Linked DNA regions of Homo sapiens: region 2 is linked to region 1. The links are contacts of gene promoters, found by promoter capture Hi-C in human tissues and cell types (Jung and others, 2019). All regions are on one chromosome and are shown on one strand. Each heading gives the region's core, a stretch centred on a gene start or on the middle of the fragment in contact. The rest is flanking DNA. Distances are from core to core; before and after follow the strand shown. Region 1 holds the start of PPIF (peptidylprolyl isomerase F). Region 2 overlaps PLAC9 (placenta associated 9).

Evidence for each region. Contacts are between HindIII fragments. The study calls those that stand out against the background at their distance.
Region 2: a contact is called between a fragment that was not itself captured here and the fragment with the promoter of PPIF in region 1, in 1 of the 25 tissues and cell types used here (bladder).

The regions. Positions count from the first base shown.
Region 1 is chr10:79,346,216-79,350,247 of GRCh38, forward strand. PPIF (peptidylprolyl isomerase F) reads left to right here and starts at 1,254. Exons shown (of 6, transcript NM_005729.4): 1 at 1,254-1,528; 2 at 2,861-2,891; 3 at 3,450-3,538. The coding sequence starts at 1,334. RefSeq lists cis regulatory regions at 921-1,498, 998-2,039, 998-1,671, 998-1,549, 998-1,548 and 5 more, silencers at 1,028-1,437, 1,458-1,687 and an enhancer at 3,002-3,502. The HindIII fragment of the contact is 10,018 bases long and covers 232-4,032 here.
Region 2 is chr10:80,140,283-80,144,416 of GRCh38, forward strand. It overlaps PLAC9 (placenta associated 9), which reads left to right. Exons shown (of 4, transcript NM_001012973.3): 2 at 1,800-1,897; 3 at 3,941-4,061. Among named protein-coding and RNA genes, the nearest start is that of PLAC9, 9.6 kb to the left of the region's middle. The HindIII fragment of the contact is 7,716 bases long and covers 1-4,134 here.

The DNA of each region.
Region 1 (4,032 bases), core at 4-2,503:
GTCCAGAGCTGGTCCCTACTCCTGCCCACCTGCCTCCAAGGCTCAGCCCCACCCCTTTCTCTGACCCCTCAGGCCTCTAACTGAGACCGCAGCTCTCTGAATCCCAAACTGTGAGAAAGACAGTCCAGACTCTGTCCATCACAGATGCCCACAGGCACAGTACTTAGTTGACAAATCCATGTCTCTCTCGTTCATTTTATCCTAAGAACAGACACGAGAAAAAAGCAGGATGAGGAGCATGATCGCACCCTTACCCTCCAGATGGGAAACTGAGGCCCAGAGAGGCCTGGAGCACTGGTGCAAGCTGGTAGCAATACTCCAGGGCTCCCTAGCCCTAGCCAGTGCCTTCCTGTGTCCAGGCCTCAGCTTCCCCTGGGGACAGTACAAGTGTTGGGCCAGATGCTCTCTCAGGTCCCTGCGTGGCATCCATTTATTGCAGACCTCCCACCACCTTGCAGTGAGGGTGGCTCTGGCTGCTGGGAAGCCCACTTTCAGCACGTGGGGTTTAAATGCTCCTGCTGTGGGTCTCCCCACTGAGTCCCCTCCCAGGGTGCATGCTGATGGGAGGGGGCAGCTGGCAGTCTGCCCCGGGGCTGTCAGTGTGGGTCCTAGGAGGAGGGATCAGACCCAGTCCTGGGGAGGGCTGGGGGCCTGAAAGGAGCATGATGAGCCCAGGCTGCGTTTTCAGTCTTGCTAGAAGCAGGTCTGGTCCCCAGAAACAACTAGAGACAGGCCCAGGCCGGGACAAGCAGGCTAGGGGGCATCATGGGAGGTGTCTCAGCTTATCTCCTCCCTCTTGCGCCTCTAGCTCACTAATCCCGCCTCTCATCTCACCTTTCTCTAACCCTCTCAGACTGCAGGACCTAGGGCAGCAGGGAAGCTTATTTGGCCTGAGCCTTACCTGCAAAGGGCTCAAAGGTAGACTTTTGCTATTATATTCAAATTGCAACGTATAGATGCTCATATTTTGGAATTAATTACGTTTTAGCAGTTTTTCTTTTTTTAAAAAAATCTGCTGGTACCTTAATAAACATGGAACCAGCAACCTTTTGCCAGGTGTCTGTTCTCCGGGTCTCTGGGCCTGGAGGCGGGAGTGTTTCAAAGCACTTCACGCTCCGCGGCCCCACCGGCTGGCTGCGCTGCCCGCTGCGGCCGGCAGGGGTAGTCCACGGACAGGCCTGGAGGAGGCGGGACGGGGGCAGGGCCGGGAACCTGGGCAAGCCAATAAAGGCTGCGGCGCGCGGCTGCGCGGGACTCGGCCTTCTGGGCGCGCGCGACGTCAGTTTGAGTTCTGTGTTCTCCCCGCCCGTGTCCCGCCCGACCCGCGCCCGCGATGCTGGCGCTGCGCTGCGGCTCCCGCTGGCTCGGCCTGCTCTCCGTCCCGCGCTCCGTGCCGCTGCGCCTCCCCGCGGCCCGCGCCTGCAGCAAGGGCTCCGGCGACCCGTCCTCTTCCTCCTCCTCCGGGAACCCGCTCGTGTACCTGGACGTGGACGCCAACGGGAAGCCGCTCGGCCGCGTGGTGCTGGAGGTGAGACCGCTCGCAGGGCCGGCCTGGGCGCGGGACACGGGCCCGGGGAGAGCCCTGGGCCCCGGGCGGCGCGGTGCCGGGCGCGCTGGGTGACCTTGGGCCTCCCCATGCCGAGCTCTGGGCCTCAGTTTCCCCATTTCTGAGAATGGGCGTCAGAATGATTTCTTCCGGCCTCCCTCGGAGCACTGGAGCGGGGGAGACGGGAGGGAGGGCACGTGTGGAGGAGAAAGCTCAAGGTCAGATCGCAGAGAGGGAGGGCTCAGCACCTCTGGGCCGGCCCGGGCACGAGGGAGGGGCTCCAGGAGCCTTCTGGGGCTGAGCCTAGATCCGGAGCTCCGAGGTGGGTGTCGGGGGTCTTGGGGTGAGCGTCGTGGCCCAGCGGGTGCTCACGTGGCGGCCCTTGCACAACACGGAGCGCTTCCTGGCTCCGGCCCCGCCCCTGCGGTCGGGCTCACACTGGGGGTGCTGGGAAATGGAGCGAGAGGTGGTTTCCAGCAGTAGTGCGGGCCCAGTAGGCCTCAGGCCCCGGCCACCTGGTGGACCCCAGAATGCCCCTCCTGCGAGTCGGGACACACTCAGAGACAGTGTGCCCGGCGCCTCAACCCCTGCCACTGTCCTTGGGGGCCACACTGAGCACCTCCCCTAACTCTGTTTTTGGGTCTTTTCTAAAGCAAAGTAAGAAACAGTCACCAGGGTAGCTTTAGAGGGAAAGCCCTAGTGGAGCCTTCAGGTCGGCCACACATTGACAGCAGGGGTCTGTTTGTGTTGACTGGCCCGTATCCCAGGGAGCCCTTAGTATTTCTTCTTCATTCTCAGTTTCTTCTGGAAAATAGGGACACCCTTCCTGCTTCCATTTGGTTCCAGGGTGGGTCTTGCAGCTTCGAGGGTAGAGGCTGGCTGGGATGGGGCTTCAGCCTTCCCTCCCCACACCCTCATGCCTCTCCCTGGGCCTCAGTTTCCCAACCCCGAATGGAGGAGCTGGTCTGGCTTCTACCTTAGACACACTCTCTTGTCCCTGAATTTCTGATGCTTTGGGCCCAGCTGTGGGAGCACTGCCAGCTGTGTCCACAGAAGTAGGCCAAGATAGCATTGTCATCTCTTCTGACAGATTAGGAAACCAAGGCCACCTCCTCCAGCCTTGGGTTCAGGAAACGGCTCCCAGAAATGATAGAGCTGCCTCCCATGGGGGTTGGCAATAATGGGAATGGAATGTCCACGTGCTTCTTCCTTAGCCTCCTTGGCCACTGTGGGGGTGGGTGGGTGCTGAGAGACACCCACCTTCACCTGCCTCTCCAATGACCATCCTCTTTTGTCCTTCTTCTCCCCCAACAGCTGAAGGCAGATGTCGTCCCAAAGACAGCTGGTAAGACAGGGCCTGGGGCCTTCTGAGATGGGTCTAGAGGGAAGGGGGCCAGGCAGGGCAAGGTGGGTGGCGTGATGAGAAGAGTCGGGGCTCAGAGACCCCTGACAGATGGGAGCTCCATGTGTGGCTCAGCCATTGGGTGCTCTGGGGCAGCCCTGCCATCCCTCTCTGGGCCTCAACGTTGGCTCTGCCCTCCTCTCTCATAGTAGCTGGGAGCCTCAGAGCCAGTGGAAGGCACATGTAAATTTCCCGGAGACTTCCCCACTCCTGGTGCCCAGTGAGGCAGGGTGATGGGCACACAGCCCTTGAGTCCGTGCCCTGCTGGCCAGCACAGCCATGAGCCTGTACTCTTGTCACAGTGCTCAGGTACTGAGGACAGGGAAGGGGAGTGACTTGTCCAGTTACATAGCGAGTTGGGCAGAGCAGACCCAAGAGGTGGGCCAGAGTCTTTATCCCCCTGTTCACTGCTGGGGATGTAGCAGGGATTTTGGCTGGAACGGGTATGACCCTGGAATTGGGGCCTGGCCCTGTTGACCTGTGTTTCTCTTCGACCCTCAGAGAACTTCAGAGCCCTGTGCACTGGTGAGAAGGGCTTCGGCTACAAAGGCTCCACCTTCCACAGGGTGATCCCTTCCTTCATGTGCCAGGTAATGTAGTTTCCTCTTCTGTAAGGGGGGATGAGAGCAGGAGCTGCCTTGTGGGTGTGTGAAGATGCCTGGTATGAGGAAGGTGCTGAGCAGAGCAGCTGCAGTTGCTCTGTCAGCCAGGCTGCCCTCCCTGCATTAGCCCTGTATCCAGGCTTCACTGCACATGGAAGCCCAGCCCCAACCCGCTGCCACTCCAGGTCAGTGGCAGGCCCTGCCCGGGGGACTGGGAGGTGGAGTCTATCAAGAGAGAGCTGGGTTGGGAGATGGATGTGCTGGGGGTGGCCTTGAAGACTTTGAAGAGCCAGCATATTCCAGTGGTCTCTGACCTTGTCCCCTGTGTGCCCCTGAGCACTGGTGTGGGAGATAAGAGAGGGAGAGAGAGAAGTGGAGGAGGCGGAGGAGGAAGACAGGTCCAGGGCAGGAACACACACGCCAGGACTTGGGGCTTCCCTTCCCAGAGAAAGGCATTATTCTCGGTGAAATGAATGTTTTTC
Region 2 (4,134 bases), core at 1,017-3,516, 800 kb after region 1:
CAGCCAAGCTTCGTGAAATTTTCCAGAATCCAAGTTTCCACCCCCAACCTCACCTTCCCTCCTCATCTCATGGTAATCCAAACTCTGCTTTTCCACCACTCCTAAAAGTGCTGGGGTGAAATTTAGCAGGGCCTTTCTGTGCTCTCTTTCCAGTCCTTATCTTGCTAGACCTCTCCGCTGCTTTCGGCCCTGCTGACGCTTTTCATCCTCTGCAGAATCTGTAAAGCTCTTGGCTTCTCTTGACTTCTGGGGCAGCACCCTCCTTCCTGAGTGTCAGCGTTCTCCAAGGTTCCAGCCAACCCTGATGCCCCACAGGCATCTCAGGGTTACCAACTCTGAAACCCAAGCTCGGCATCAGGGCTCTGAGACTTCTGCTCTGAGGGTTGATGGTGCCTGGAAGAGCTAACTCAAGGAGAACAATGGTGAATCAAGAGTTGAGAGGGGTTTCACCATGTTAGCCAGGATGGTCTCAATCTCCTGACCTCGTGCGCCTACCTCGCCCTCCCAAAGTGCTGGGATTACAGGTGTGAGCCACCATGCCTGGCTAAAATTGCAATATTCTTTACCTCTTGTTCCTCCTGTGATTCCTAAGACCTCCAGCCTCTTCAGCCCCCATTTCTCCCAATTTATTGGCCCTCTTCTTGGCCTCATGAGTCCTCTGCTTATGAGTAGTGACTTTGGACACATCCTTTCACCCTTCTGTGCATCAGTTTTCCTACGTGTAGATTGGGCATAACAACAGGTTGTTGGAGAGGTTAAGTTAGCACCCTACATGGTGCATGGTAAGCACTCATCACATGCCAGCTGTTACTAACGGGTTCCCAGTGTCAACGCTGCTACTGAAATATCTCCTTTCATTTTCTTCCTCACTATTCCTACAGCTCCTGCCTCTGCTCATCACTTCTCCTTCACCCCTCTTATCCTGATTGCTGCAGTAACCTCCTGCCTTCAAAGGCATCTCCCTCCAATCTATTCCCTATATTTAAAAAATTCATGTTTGGCTCTGTGACTTTTCTGTTAAAATAACCCCCCTTGGCCTGGCTTGGTGGCTTACACCTGTAATCCCAGCACTTTGGAAGGCTGAGGCGGGTGGATCACCTGAGGTCAGGAGTTTGAGACCAGGCTGACCAACATGGTGAAACCCTGTCTCTGCTAAAAATACAAAAATTAGCAGGGCGTGGTGGCAGGTGCTTGTAATCCCAGCTACTCAGGAGGCTGAGGCAGGAGAATCGCTTGAACCCAGGAGGCGGAGGTTGGAGTGAGCTGAGATCGCACCATTGCACTCCAGCCTGGGCGACAGAGCGAGACTCCATCTCAAAACAAACAAACAAACACACAAAAAAACAAACAAGCATCAGAACTGGTTTATTAAAGCCCCTGGGTTAAAGCTCTGCCCCCTTGGCTTCATTTCCAGGACTTCCCTCTCCAGTCTCTCTCTCCCGCCCACCCTGTATCTCCAGCCACCGCGGGCTCCCTGCAGGTTTTGCACAGTGAGCCCTGCTCTTTCAGACCTCTCCATTGTTGCAGGTGCCATTCTGCCTGGCTGAAGCCCATCCTCCCTTCCTCCCTGGGCTTCACCTCCTTGAGGAAGTTCATCTGGGTCTGTAGGTGACTGTGGCTGTAGAGACTGGTGGGATTGAGATGGCTGACACTCGCACACTGACCCCCACCTGGGCCGTCCTCCGCTTGCTCCTGAGTTTGCTTTGAGGACTGACCTCATTTGAGCCCAGTGTTTACAGGAGTCTCTGGCATTATGGAAAACTAAGGGTCCCACAGTGACAAGACTTGTTTTCCCACAGCTGCCGAACCCTTCAGCCCTCCGCGAGGAGACTCAGCTCAGAGCACAGCGTGTGACAGACACATGGCTGTGCAACGCCGTCTAGATGTCATGGAGGAGGTAACAGGGTGGTTTGGAAGGACATGCGAGTTCAGGACCACCTTCTAGGATGGTGTTTTTATGGGCAGATGCAAGCTTGCTTTGGAATGTGAGGACATCCGGGCCGATCCTGCCCTGTGGCCACCTCGTCCAACATCACCCTCCCATCTAGGCTGCCGGGCTGCCCAGCCCCCAGTGGACCCTGCCTCCCCTAAGGCCTTGCTTACCCCCACCCGGATATTTCAACATCATTACTGGATGGGAAGGTGGAAATTCAGTCACTGTTTTGTTATATAGCCACGATTCCTAACTTGTGTGGGGAAAAGTTTACATCTTTATTGTCACAAGCCTTTAACTGAAATTGAGCATTCTCATTCATCATAAATACAAACAGCGAGCCGTGGTATTAACAGTACTATAACTTTGTCATCAATAGAAATCCAGATAATTTCATCTTCTAGTTATGAATATCTCAACATATAATTTTTATCCTTCCTTATGTCAAAATTTCAGTTGTTATTAGGCCTGATGTTAAATCATGTGATTTAGTGAGTTAATAAATACATTTTATTTTTTTTGAGGCAGGGTCTCTGTCTGTCTACCAGGCTGGAGTGCCGTGGTGCAGTCTCGGCTCACTGCAACTTCCACCTCCCAGGCTCAAGCAATCCTCCCACCTCAGTCTCCCAAGTAGCTGAGACTACAGACACATGTGCCACCATGCCTAGCTAATTTCTGTATTTATTTTGTAGAGGCAAGGTTTTGCTATGTTGCCCAGGCTGGTCTCGAACTCCTGAGCTCAAGCCATCTGCCCACCTCGGCCTCCCAAGGTGCTGGGATTACAGGCATGAGCCACTGTGCCCGGCCAATACATATATTACATCAAAAATTTAAATTTTTTTTTGACAGAGTCTTGCCCTGTCACCCAGGCTGGAGCCCATGGTACAATCTTGGCTCACTGCAACCTCTGCCTCCCAGGTTCCAGTGATTCTCATGCCTCAACCTCCCGAGTAGCTGGGACTACAGGCATGCACCACCATGCCCAGCTAATTTTTTGTACTTACCATGCCCGGCTAATTTTTTGTACCTCTGGTAGAGATGGGGTTTCACCATGTTGGCCAGGCTAGTCTCAAACTCCTGACCTCAAGTGATCTCGCCTCAACCTCCCAAAGTGCTGGGATTACAGGCGTGAGCCACCATGCTGGGCCAAAAAGTTTAATTTTAAATACTTGAATTTTTTTTTTTTTTTTTTTTTTTTTTGAGGCAGAGTCTCACTCTGTCACCCAGGCTGGAGTGCAATGGTGTGATCTCGGCTCACTGCAACCTCCACCTCCCGGTTCAAGTGATTCTCTTGCCTCAGCCTCCCGAGTAGCTGAGACTACAGACGCGCACCACCATGCCCGGCTTCTTTTTGTATTTTTAGTAGAGACAGGGTTTCGCCACGTTGGCTAGGCTGATCTTGAACTCCTGACCTCCGATGATCTGCCCCCCTTGGCCTCCCAAAGTGCTGGGATTACAGGCGTGAGCCACCACGCCCGGCCTAATACTTGAATAATATTTTAATGCAATTGGTGCCCTTAGTAATTCTATATGTTTTATTTTTTGCATTTAAGGCATTATTCTGAGAAGAGGTCTGTAGGCTTCACCACACTGCCAATGGGGTCCATGGCATACACAGGGAAAAACCATTAAGAACTCAGTAAATTTCAGAATCCCAAACCTGTCATTTGGCAGAGATACCACCAGGGGGCGGAACAACAAAAGGAATGTGAGCTCCAGGCTGCAAAGTCCAAAAGGGAGAAGGTATTCTACAGGCGCTTCATCCAAATCTGTGACTAAGTGCCAAAAAAGAAGGAGCCTTAGAGAGCAAGCCCCCTAGGATATTGTCATCTGGGGAAACTGAGGCAGGTAGGGGCAGAGCCTGAGTGAGGAAAACCCAGGTCACTTAGCGCCCAGTCCTTTCCCACTGCACCGCACTGGACCGCCAGCTGCTCTCTTAGGACCTAGCTGATGAAGCGGAACGTGGAACCACTTCTGTCCTCGACTTTACCCCACTTCCCACTCTAGATGGTAGAGAAGACCGTGGATCACCTGGGGACAGAGGTGAAAGGCCTGCTGGGCCTGCTGGAGGAGCTGGCCTGGAACCTGCCCCCGGGACCCTTCAGCCCCGCTCCCGACCTTCTCGGAGGTGAGCAGTGCAGGTGGCAGAGGACAGCCTCTGGGCGGCTGTCATCTGGCGCTGGGCAGGCGAGACAGGGACG